Linked DNA regions of Homo sapiens: region 2 is linked to region 1. Evidence: promoter capture Hi-C in human tissues and cell types (Jung and others, 2019). All regions are on one chromosome and are shown on one strand. Each heading gives the region's core, a stretch centred on a gene start or on the middle of the fragment in contact. The rest is flanking DNA. Distances are from core to core; before and after follow the strand shown.

Region 1 (5,484 bases), core at 2,951-5,450:
TTTAAGACAACACTGGCCAGGTGCGGTGGCTCACGCCTGTAATCCCAGCACTTTGGGAGGCTGAGGCAGGCGGATCATGAGGTCAGGAGTTCGAGACCAGCCTGGCCAACATGGTGAAACCCCCATCTCTACTAAAAGTACAAAAATTAGCTGGGTGTGGTGGCGGGTGCCTGTAATCCCAGCTACTCGGGAAGCTGAGGCAGGAGAATCTGGGAGGCAGAGGTTGCAGTGAGCCAAGACCATGCCATTGCACTCCAGCCTGGGTGACAGGGCGAGACACTGTCTCGAAAGAAAAAACACTGTGGGGTTGCAGTACATTTCTTTAAGAAGATGCCCACATGTTGCTGAATTCTGAGAAACACTAATGATCTGTGAGTTTGGGCAAGCCTTGGGTTAAAGTTGTGTGTGCATGAGCCTCAGAATTCCCACACACATACTCTTTTCCAGTAACTGAGTGTAATCTCTTAAAAACACAAATCTGACTGTGCCTGTTTTATCACAGTTCTAATGTTTGGCCCATCTGGGAATAAATGAGTGACTATCATGTCCTGACTTAAAACCCTTCAACGATCCCCCACTGCTCCAGGGATAAAGCCCACACTCTGACAAGGCTCCGTACGACCCTCCTCTGCAGCCTCATCCTACCAACCCCAACGCCTCTACCTCTTCTGTCTAGAACTCGCTGTCAATCCCTGCCCTTCATCCAGCTCACCCTTTGCCACTCCTATTCATCTTAAACATCACGTCTTTCTCCCAGCTCTGACACGTTGGCATTAAACAGTGAACTGTGACCAGTTGCTGGGTGCCTGTCTCTGCCTCCTGGTTGGGATACCTGAGGGTAGAGAACTGTGCATCCTTATCAGCCCCAACTCCAGCTGGTAGCACTCACTTGACACACAGAGGGAGCCCCCTCCGTGAATCTAGGTTGAATGGATGGGTGGTCACTACATTCGTCTGTTGGGATCCAAGCCTCACCCTGGAGAGCCCAGAAGGATGCATCTGCTCACCAGCCAGGAAGGCAGTGGGCTGGGGCTATACCTGCCTCACTTAAGAGATGGGAGCCCTGAGGGGCAGAGACAGCTTCCCCCGGAGTTGGCGCTGAGTCACCTGGGAAGCAGGAATTTCTGCTCCAATCTCTTCCTTACCCTAATGTTCAGGTCAGCAGTGAGAAGCTTTTTCTAGTAACTAAATTAAGGAGGCCTCTCAAAGACCTTTTTGTTGTTGTTTTGTTTTGAGACAGGGTCTCACTCTGTTGCCCAGGCTGGAGCACAGTGGCATGATCACAACTCACTGCAGCCTTGACCTCCCAGGTGCAAGCAATCCTCCTGCTTCAGCTTGGTGAGTAGCTAGGACCACAGGTGCACACCACCACGCCTAATTTTTTGCAGAGATGGCATCTGGCTATGTTGCCCAGGCTGATCTTGAACTCTGGGGTTCAAGTGACCCTCCTGCCTCAGTCTTCCAAAGTGTGGGGATGACAGGCATGAGCCACTGCGCCCGGCTCAAACACCTTTCTTTCCATTCCTGGAAATGCTGAAATCCAGTCTCCAGTGCTTCTAACATGGGGTCGTCTCCAGTTCCCCTCTCAACCACCAGTCCTCTGTCTGGTCCTCTACTCTTTGATTCTCCAGTGCACCTGAGACCACTGGGTCTCAAATAAAGCATCTCCCAGTTTCTCAGCTGACCATTGGCCTCCTTTATGAACTTTGTTTTGTACACATCTGTATCCTCAGCGCCTAGCAAAACTGGCTGTCAGGAAATGCTCACTGAGCAAACAAACGTGGCCCCACTAGGAGCCTCACATCCTCATTGATCACATGACGAGAGTAAAATTTACCTTGGAGGTAAGAGGCCCAAGAGAAGACACAGCAAGTTCTCAGTAACAATCACTATTAGAACTGGGGTAACTGGTCAAAGTGGCTGGGGGAGGGGAGGGCTTAGAGGCCTCCTACAGGCATCCTGGATGTGGCATGTAATTAGTGCTCATAAAAGACGGTTCTATTGAGGAGTGAAAATGGAACCCCTAAATAAACTAGTATGAAATAACGCAAAAAAAAAAAAAGACAATTCCAACTATTGTAGAAGTGATCACCTCAACACACATCGCCTCCTTTCCAAACCCTGGGAGAAAGGAGTTCCAACGAGAGGACATGAGTATGACAGCAAAGGAGGTGTTCAGGTCTGAGCCAACCTGGCAGGAAGTGAGTGCCTCGCCCAGCCACCCGGCCTCCCCACCTCCCTCCCTCCTCACACTTCCCATCGATCTTCATTGCCATTTCCTGGGTTTGCACATTTCCTGGGTTTGCACAAGGCTGCCTCTGGAGACAGCATGGCTTCTTTCTCAGCTGGCCTTTGGTGTCAGTGCTGGTATCACCCGCCTCCTGGCGCTGCACACTGCCCATCATCACGCACCCAGGGCCTCAGGATGCTGCTGAGAGCACCCCGGTCCACAGCCAGGTGGGAGAGCACACTGACAGACCGGCTGAACACCTGTCAGACCTCTGAGAACTCTCCTGCAAAGCTTTGGAGGGACGAGTCCACCTGGCACAGAGATCAAACTCTCCCAGCATCTCCCTTGAGGTTACATCATCCATGCACCTGCATTCCTGGACATCCTGTGAAACCTGATGGTAACCAACTACACACCAGGAGAGTTTGAAAAATACCTGGCCTGATGCAAGAATCAAAAGATGGAAAGGAAAAAACAGGAATGGCAACATAGGAAAGGCAACCTGTGATGGCAAATAAACTTCAAACTCCTTTAGCAGAATGTATCGCAGAAGCAGAGAAATGGATCACAGCCAATTAATTGAACTCTATATCCTATCAATATTAACATGCCACTTCAGAAAAATCGAGATTGCTCAAAAACTGCTAGTTACGTGGTCCTGTGGCCTACCACCCTAAGACCAGAATTCTTACATCAACAGGGATGTATAAAACACTATTTTTAAAAAAGCACAAAACACTATTTTTAAAAAAGCACGAATACTTAATCTCACAAACAAAATGTTTTGACCATTAGTATTCTTTGGGAGAAAAAAATAAAATTTTAAGTCAAATATTTTTTCAGCTAATTTCTTTTTTTAATTAAAAGGTAAGTTTACCTTTGAAGTTTCCTTTCACTGGTCAAAAGGCCATCGCCAAGTCATATTTCTAATTAGCAACCCAGGGGACTCGTTCAGAAATGTTACTTTTGAACGACTGCTTAAGCGTAAATGAAAAAAAAAAAAGTGCAACGACCCTCTGGCGTGCAGAGAAACGCTTCTGCAGAAATTCAGTGCCCCCCTGACCTTAAAGCATGCAACGAGTTCTGTTTGCGAAGCTAAAAAGAAGGGTGTTGGGTCACCCTCAAGCCTGGCTTCACCCCTGGCTTCCAAGAATCCAAGGAACAGGAGGGGCTTTATTTGACAGCTTTGCCACTTCGTTCCCTCATGAACCGCCCTGCCCTGGCACCCTGCTGCTTTATCCCAGAGGGTCCCTGAAGGTTGCAAAGCAGGCATACAGCTCTGAGTGACTTTCTAAAAGTACCTGACTGTAGGAAGTGAGGCTGGGAGGTCCCTCAGCTCCAACTTTGCTTTCTATTATTGCTACAACATTTCAGCAATCTTTTGTTTTTTGCATCCCTCTAATTTTATTTTCCAATTTAAGTTTTAAAAATCCATAAAGCAGCCCAAGTCTGGAGACCCAGGAATTTTAATTCTCTGGAGTCAGAGAAACCTAGGTTAAGTTCCCAGCCAGGTCACTTCCTAGCTCCGTGCCCCTTAGGGAATATACTTAACCACTCTCGGCCTCAGTTTCTCAACCACAAAATGGGTTCACGTGAGGGTTCCATGCTGAGCTCCCCGCGCCAGAGCGCAGATGAGAGCGCGGTTGCTGTGAGGACAGCTTCTTTCCAGAGCCAGGGGAGGAGGGCGAGTTCGCGGATCGCAGCGCGAACGCGGGGTCTCGGGCCGGGGACGGTTACGACGGAGGGGATGGGGGGTCGGGTCGCACGCCCGGCGCGGAGTCGCGGGGACTCACCAAGGCTTCCTCTTCGTCCTTCTCCAGCGCCTGGTACTGGCGGCCCCCGCCCGAGAAGCCGAGTTTCTTCAGGAACTCGGAGACGCGTCCCTCGACCATGGTGAGCGGGCGCAGGCGTTGCCTGCGTCCCTAGGTCCCCGGCGAGGCCCGGGATGGCTGCGCGCGCCCAAGCCTCCTGGGCCGGACCCGGTTACCAGGTAGCTGTCTACCTGCCCGCGGCAGGTGAGGCCCCGCCCCTGGGGCGGGGCTGCGCACAGGGAGGTGCCGGCTCACCCGGCCCCGCCCCGCGAGCTCGCCTGGGACCCCAGGGGCTCTGGGGACAGCGCCGGCTGGCCATGAAAGGCCCAGGGAGAGGCTGCGTCGCCTCAGGGCTTGGGCTGTTTCCCAAACTTACAGATCCTAAGAATCACCTGGAGTGGGGGAGGTGGAGGAGCAAATGCTGGTTTAAAATCCGGATTCCCAGACCCCTCCCTGCCCAGTCACGGTTTGGAGCCGCCGGGAGCTGGGTTTTTAACGAGCCCCAGGTGATCCTCTTGAGGAACCCAGGGTGGGCGGCTCTAAGGCGCCGGGAGCGAGGTGGCTGGAGCTCAGTCAGACTCACACCTGCGGCTGTGCACTCTGGACGGGTCACGTGGCCTTTCTGAGCCTCGGCAACCTAGCCTGTCATTGAGCGGGGAGCAGCAGAAGGCTAAGACCCCCACCTCCAGGGCCCTGGGAGTGAGTCCAGGAACAGGAGCGACTGAGAGCCCTGCTGCCTTTGGCGCCTGCATGGTCTCGGATGGTCAGGGCCCCTGTCCTCGTCTGCAGGATGAGCGCCGCTCTTGCTCGTCGTGGGACCTGAGCAGGTTTCTTATATTTTTAGCGCCTTGGTTTACTGCTCTGCAGAATGGCCACCACGATAGCGCCTCCTTCACAGTGACATGGAGAGGCCCCAGCGGACAGTGCTGTACAGGAAGGTCTCGAGCAGGGCTTGGAGTAGAGAATGTGCTGGTGTCCCCATGACACCATCCTCCTCCTCTTCATCATCAGAAGGTGCTGGGCTCAAATGGCTCCCAAAGTATGTGAGTCCATACGCAGTGTAGACAGTTGCCAGCAGCCAAGTGGGTGCTTTGAAGTTCCAGGGCTTTCTTTGGCTTCAGGTAGGACTAGATCCGTAACTAGACCCACCACTTAGCAGAGGGGGAGCTCTGGGGAAGTCCGTGCCACCCGCCTTTCCGCTGGCTTCCTCATCTCTACAGGGAAGTTACTCACGGGCTACAGGAGGTGCCCTCTGCATTTGTCCACGAAATTCAGCCACCCCTTTTGAGCAAATATTTGCCACCTACCTCAATTGCTCCCGAGGGTTGACTCCAGGCCACGAAAACCTGCAGGGCAGTTCCAGTGCCCCTTCTTGTATCTCCTGCATCTTCCTCTTTCAAGGAAACAAAGGCTACGGTATCAGCCTGGCCCCACTCCCCAGTT
Region 2 (5,095 bases), core at 471-2,970, 60 kb before region 1:
TCACTCTGCTGCCCAGGCTGGAGGGCAGTAGTGTGATCTCAGCTCACTACAACCTCTGCCTCCCGGGTTCAAGCAATTCTCTTGCCTCTGCCCCCCAGTAGCTGGGATTATAGGCACGTGCCACCACGCCTAGCTGATTTTTGTATTTTTAGTACAGATGGGGTTTCACCATGTTGGCCAACCTGGTCTTAAACTCCTAACCTCAAGTGATCCGTCTGCCTCAGTGTCCAAAAGTGCTGGGATTACAGACGTGAGCCACCGCACCCGGCCCAGAACTGACTTTACTCTGTCCACCTGCAGGCTGCTCTTGGCAACTTTGCCGTTCGCGTAGACGGGTCTTCCCAGCCCTGGCTCAGGCCTCCTTGTCCTCATCTCCTTCAACGAGCTTGTTGTCCATCCACCCCCTTCTCCCGGCAGCCCAGTGCCTGCTGCTAAGGGGTTGAATTGTGTCCCTCCAATAAAATATGTTCACATCCTAACTCCTGGTACACGTGAATGTGACCTTATGTGCAAACAGGGCCTTTGCAGACATCATCAAATAAAAATGGGGTCATTAGAGTATCCACCCTAGTCCAATACAACTGGCGTCCTTATAAAAAGAAGAGAAGAGACGCAGAGACAGAGGAGGAGACCATGTGACAGACAGAGACTAGAGGCAAGATATCTATGTGCTCAGGACTGCCTGTGACACCAGAAGCTGAGAAGCATTTGGCTGATTCTCCCCCTAGGGTCTTCAAGAACAGCATGCTCCTGCCACACCTGGACCTCGGACTTCTGGCCTCTAGAATGGTGAGAATAAGCTTCTGTTTCCAGCCCTGCAGCCTGTGGTGCTTTGTTTTGACAGCCACAGGAATATGCACACCCAGTCTCCTCCAAGGCCTCATCACATCAGCCACAGCTCCTCCAGATCTCAGCTTCACGCTCCCTCTCCCACCTGCCTCTGCCTCTCTTCCCAGCTCTCTTCCTCTAGCCCTTGATTCCCATCGATTCTCCATCCCCACTGAGACCTACAATCTTTGAAGGTGGGAACCATGACTGTCTTGTTCACAACCTCCCCCAATCCCAACACTACATGAACATGAAAGGGATTCAATGAAAGTGATACGAACAGATCACGCAGTCACGTGCTATACACAGTAACACCGAAGGATAAATGCTCCTCAAAAGCTCCACGAAGGCTGGAAGCACTGGCTCACACCTGTAATCCCAGCACTTTGGGAGGCTGAGGCAGGTGGATCACCTGAGGTCAGGAGTTCAAGACCAGCCTAGCCAACATGGTGAAATCCCATCTCTACTTAAAATTTAAAAAATTAGCTGGGTGTGGTGGTGCGCCCCTATAATCCCAGCTACTTGGGAGGCTGAGGCAGGAGAATTGCATGAACCTGGGAGATGGAGATTGCAGTGAGCCAAGATCGTGCCATTGCACTCCAGCCTGGGCGACAAGAGTGAAACTCTGTCTGAAAACAAACAAACAAACAAACAAAAAAAACAACGCCATGAAGATCGTTCTGTTCAGGATATTAAGCCAGAAAGCCCCAATTCACTAGAGATCAAGACCATCCTACATTCAATAGACCCCCTTGGGTTTCATTATCCAGAGCCTAAGATGCCCTTTCGCAGGGCCATTAGTAAAACAAACCGAGAACCTGGGCATATATTCAGGGAAAAAGGGCTGCAACCCAGCAAAGACACCTGTACAGCACCACTGCATCATTTTCATGGTTCCAAACAGGTCTAGGGGGAAAGTCCAACCCCTGGCATACATCTCCGCTCATTTATAGGTTGTTTAAAGCTAAAACCTAAAGACTATTATCTATGAGTACAGCTTTTTTTCTTGTTCTTCTTTTCCTATTGAAAACTATCATTTAAGGGTATTCTGATGTGGTTTGAATGTCTTGTGTGTCTCATTACAGGATTTTTTTTTCTTTAAGGGAAGAGATGAACTTATTATGACTTAGAATTTATCTGGGATGGGGTTTTCCAAGTGTCTGTCATTTGTATTTTGCTTTTAGGATTTTTATCACATCTGTGTGCCCACATCATCACATAATATTCCAGCTCCTCTTTTCCATGTTTTTTTTGTGTGCTCTCAGCATTTGGTGTTACTAAGATTTTGTTTGTTAAATACACTGAGTGACAAAGTATCCAAAGCCAGACACAGTATTTCCAATTCCCATTAACTCAAAAAACAGTTATTGAATGCTTTTGTCATAGGACACACAGCTGCCCACATGTTGATTTTACCACCTGCCCCTCAATTAATGCACACCATGCAGTGTCGTTGAAAAAATAAGGCATTTGGAATCTCTTCTACTACTAATTACCAGATAATCGTGTACATTCATGTATACACAGGCAAGCCTGACTATGCACCAGAGCCATGTACACCTGATACTAGGTACCTGATACCATGTACCAGACCCAGTACACTCAACCCTTAAAGCAAGATTCTCTTGCCCACACTGGCCAGCAGGACAAACCTCTGTGTCCCAGCACACACTGGGATGCCTCAATCCACCAGGAGTTTGTCTGCTGTAATTCACTGTAATGATCATTACAGCACACATTTGCAATAATGGTTTACTCTTCATATATAAATTAGAAAGGCTCCGAGGACCCTCTCAATAACAGCATTCTTAGTTGCCTGTTCTATACCTTTCTGGTTTCTCTATTGATATATAATTTGTATATAATAAAATTCACTCCTTTAACATATATAATTGAATGGTGGTTAGTGTATGCAGAGTCGTGCACCTATCCGCACAATCAATTTTGGAACATTTTCTTCACCCCCGAAGGAAACCCCATAACTGTTAGGAGTCACTACACACTCCCCAACCCCAGGCCCTGGCAAACACTAACCTACTTTCTGTTTCTATGAAGTGACCTATGTTTTGGTTTGTTTCTTTTTTCAGACAGTCTCTTGCTCTGTCACCCAGGCTGGAGGGCAGTGGCGCAATCTCGGCTCACTGCAAACTCCACCTCCCGGGCTCAAGCGATTCTTCTGCCTCAGCCTCCCGAGTAGCTGGGATTTTAGGTGCCTGCCACCACACCCAGTTAATTTTTGTATTTTTAGTAGAGACAGGGTTTCACCATGTTGGCCAGACTGGTCTAGAACTCCTGACCTTAGGTGATCGTCTGCCTTGGCCTCCCAAAGCGCTAGGATTACAGGTATGAGCCACCGCGCCTGGCCGAGTGACCTATTTTTGAATATTTTATATAAATAAAATCATATAACATGTGCAACTGGCTTCTTTCACCTAGGAAAATGGCTTCAACATTAATCCATGTTGCAGTATGAATCAGTACTTCATTCCTTTCTGTGGCTGAAAAATATTCCACTGTACCTAAGTTGTTTATTCTTTAATGAGCTGATGGACATCTAAGTTTGTTTACATCATGGGTTTGATGTATTAATTACATATATATACATATGAACAGACACTAGAATGATTTTCCACACATCACCTAAAAACACGTTGCAGACAGCAGCTGCGTGTGCGTTACTGTCTGGGAACCAATGGGCCTGACATGAGCCTAGACATGGGTTGGTTCCTCCGTGTCCTGGCACAGCCCCTAGGCTCCCTTCCAATGGGACATACCCAGTTAGTGACAATCCCCGGCCTCTGCTTCCCTTGCTCTTGGCAAATAGCCACAGAAGAACTACTGACAAAGTCAAACCGCTGCACGATGCTGGGCTGCCCGTGCCTCTCCCTGTCTCGGCCACCAGGACCCAGGGGCTTGGGATGACTTATGAATCACTACGTAGAAGAAGGGCGGGTCCCCTCGGCTTAGCATCATCAAGTGATGATGACTCCCAGCCCTGCTGTCCGCGTGTGGCCTTGGGCTCTACATCCATTGCCGCTCTGATAGCCTCCTCTGTAAGACAAGGGCTTGGATAGAGTTGTAAACCAGTATTAAGAGCCAACACTCACTCTGCACTGTGTATCATGTGGGTGCTTGCACAGACTAACTCCTTTAATCCAGACAGTCGCCCTAGGAGAGGGTATATGAGCATTCCCATTTTTCAGAGGAGGAAACTGGGGCACAGAGAGCTAAGAAACTTGCTGGAGGTCACAGAACCTCCAGTTTTGTGGCAAGCGTAGAATTTAAACAGAGGCAGGCTGGCTCTGGGGTCCTTGCTCTTAGCCAGAAAGACCCAAACCCACAGGCAAAGAGTGACAAGAAAGCTGATACAGTTTGAATGTGTGTCCCAACTCAAACCTCAAGTTGAAACATAAGCCCCAGTGTTGGAGGTGGGAGGAGATTGGACGATGGGGTGGATCCCTCATGAATGGATTAGCGCCATCTCCTTCGAGCCGTTCTTGCTGGAGTGAGTTCCTGAGAGATCTAATTGTTTCAAAGCATGTGGCATCTCCCCTTCCTCCCTCTCCTGCCCCTGCTCTTGCCATGTGACATGCCTGCTCCCCCTTCCCCTTCCGCCTTGATTGGAAACTTCCTGGAGCCTCCCCAGAAGCTGAGCAGACACCATGCTTCCTGTACGGCCTGTAGAACCATAGGCCAATTAAACTATTTTCTTAATAAATTACCAAGCCTCAGGTATTTTTTTTTTTTTTAGCAATGCAAGAACAGCCTAATACAAAAGGGACACCCTGGATCATTTGCTGTCATTCATTTTGCAAGCATTCGCCGGGCACTCTGTACCTGTCGGAGAACATGCTATTGGGAGGCTGGAGTTTGGGTGACGGGGCTGCACCTTCCCAACCCTTCCTATTCTGCAGCCTCCCCACCTTCTCTTGCGGCAGGGAAGGGCTCAGAGCCCATTGACCACCCTGGCAAGGCAAGGGGCGGCCATAGCACTCTTACCTGACCCCGATCGTGAACATACTCAGGAGTTGTTTCCCTTGCGACCAGCCAATGAGCATGATGAGACCTGGGGAAGAGACAAAAACATCCTTATCTCCATATGCACTACACACGCTGATGCCTGGAGGGATTCAAACTCACTTCCTTAAAGAGTTTACAGGAATGCATGCACAGAGGAACGCCTGATAACCTCAACCACTTTCAACCCGTCTCTTCTCTTTTCTAAGGGAGATACGTTTATACCTACAAAAACCCGATTTTACTTTCT

What was found. Contacts are between HindIII fragments. The study calls those that stand out against the background at their distance.
Region 2: a fragment that was not itself captured here is called in contact with the fragment with the promoter of ATP2C2 in region 1 in 3 of the 25 tissues and cell types used here (bladder, mesendoderm cells and neural progenitor cells).

The regions. Positions count from the first base shown.
Region 1 is chr16:84,367,254-84,372,737 of GRCh38, reverse strand. ATP2C2 (ATPase secretory pathway Ca2+ transporting 2) reads right to left here and starts at 4,200. Exons shown (of 27, transcript NM_014861.4): 1 at 4,024-4,200. The coding sequence starts at 4,122. The HindIII fragment of the contact is 8,598 bases long and covers 1,848-5,484 here.
Region 2 is chr16:84,425,534-84,430,628 of GRCh38, reverse strand. ATP2C2 (ATPase secretory pathway Ca2+ transporting 2) reads right to left here. Exons shown (of 27, transcript NM_014861.4): 11 at 4,828-4,894. Among named protein-coding and RNA genes, the nearest start is that of ATP2C2-AS1, 39 kb to the left of the region's middle. The HindIII fragment of the contact is 5,768 bases long and covers 1-4,604 here.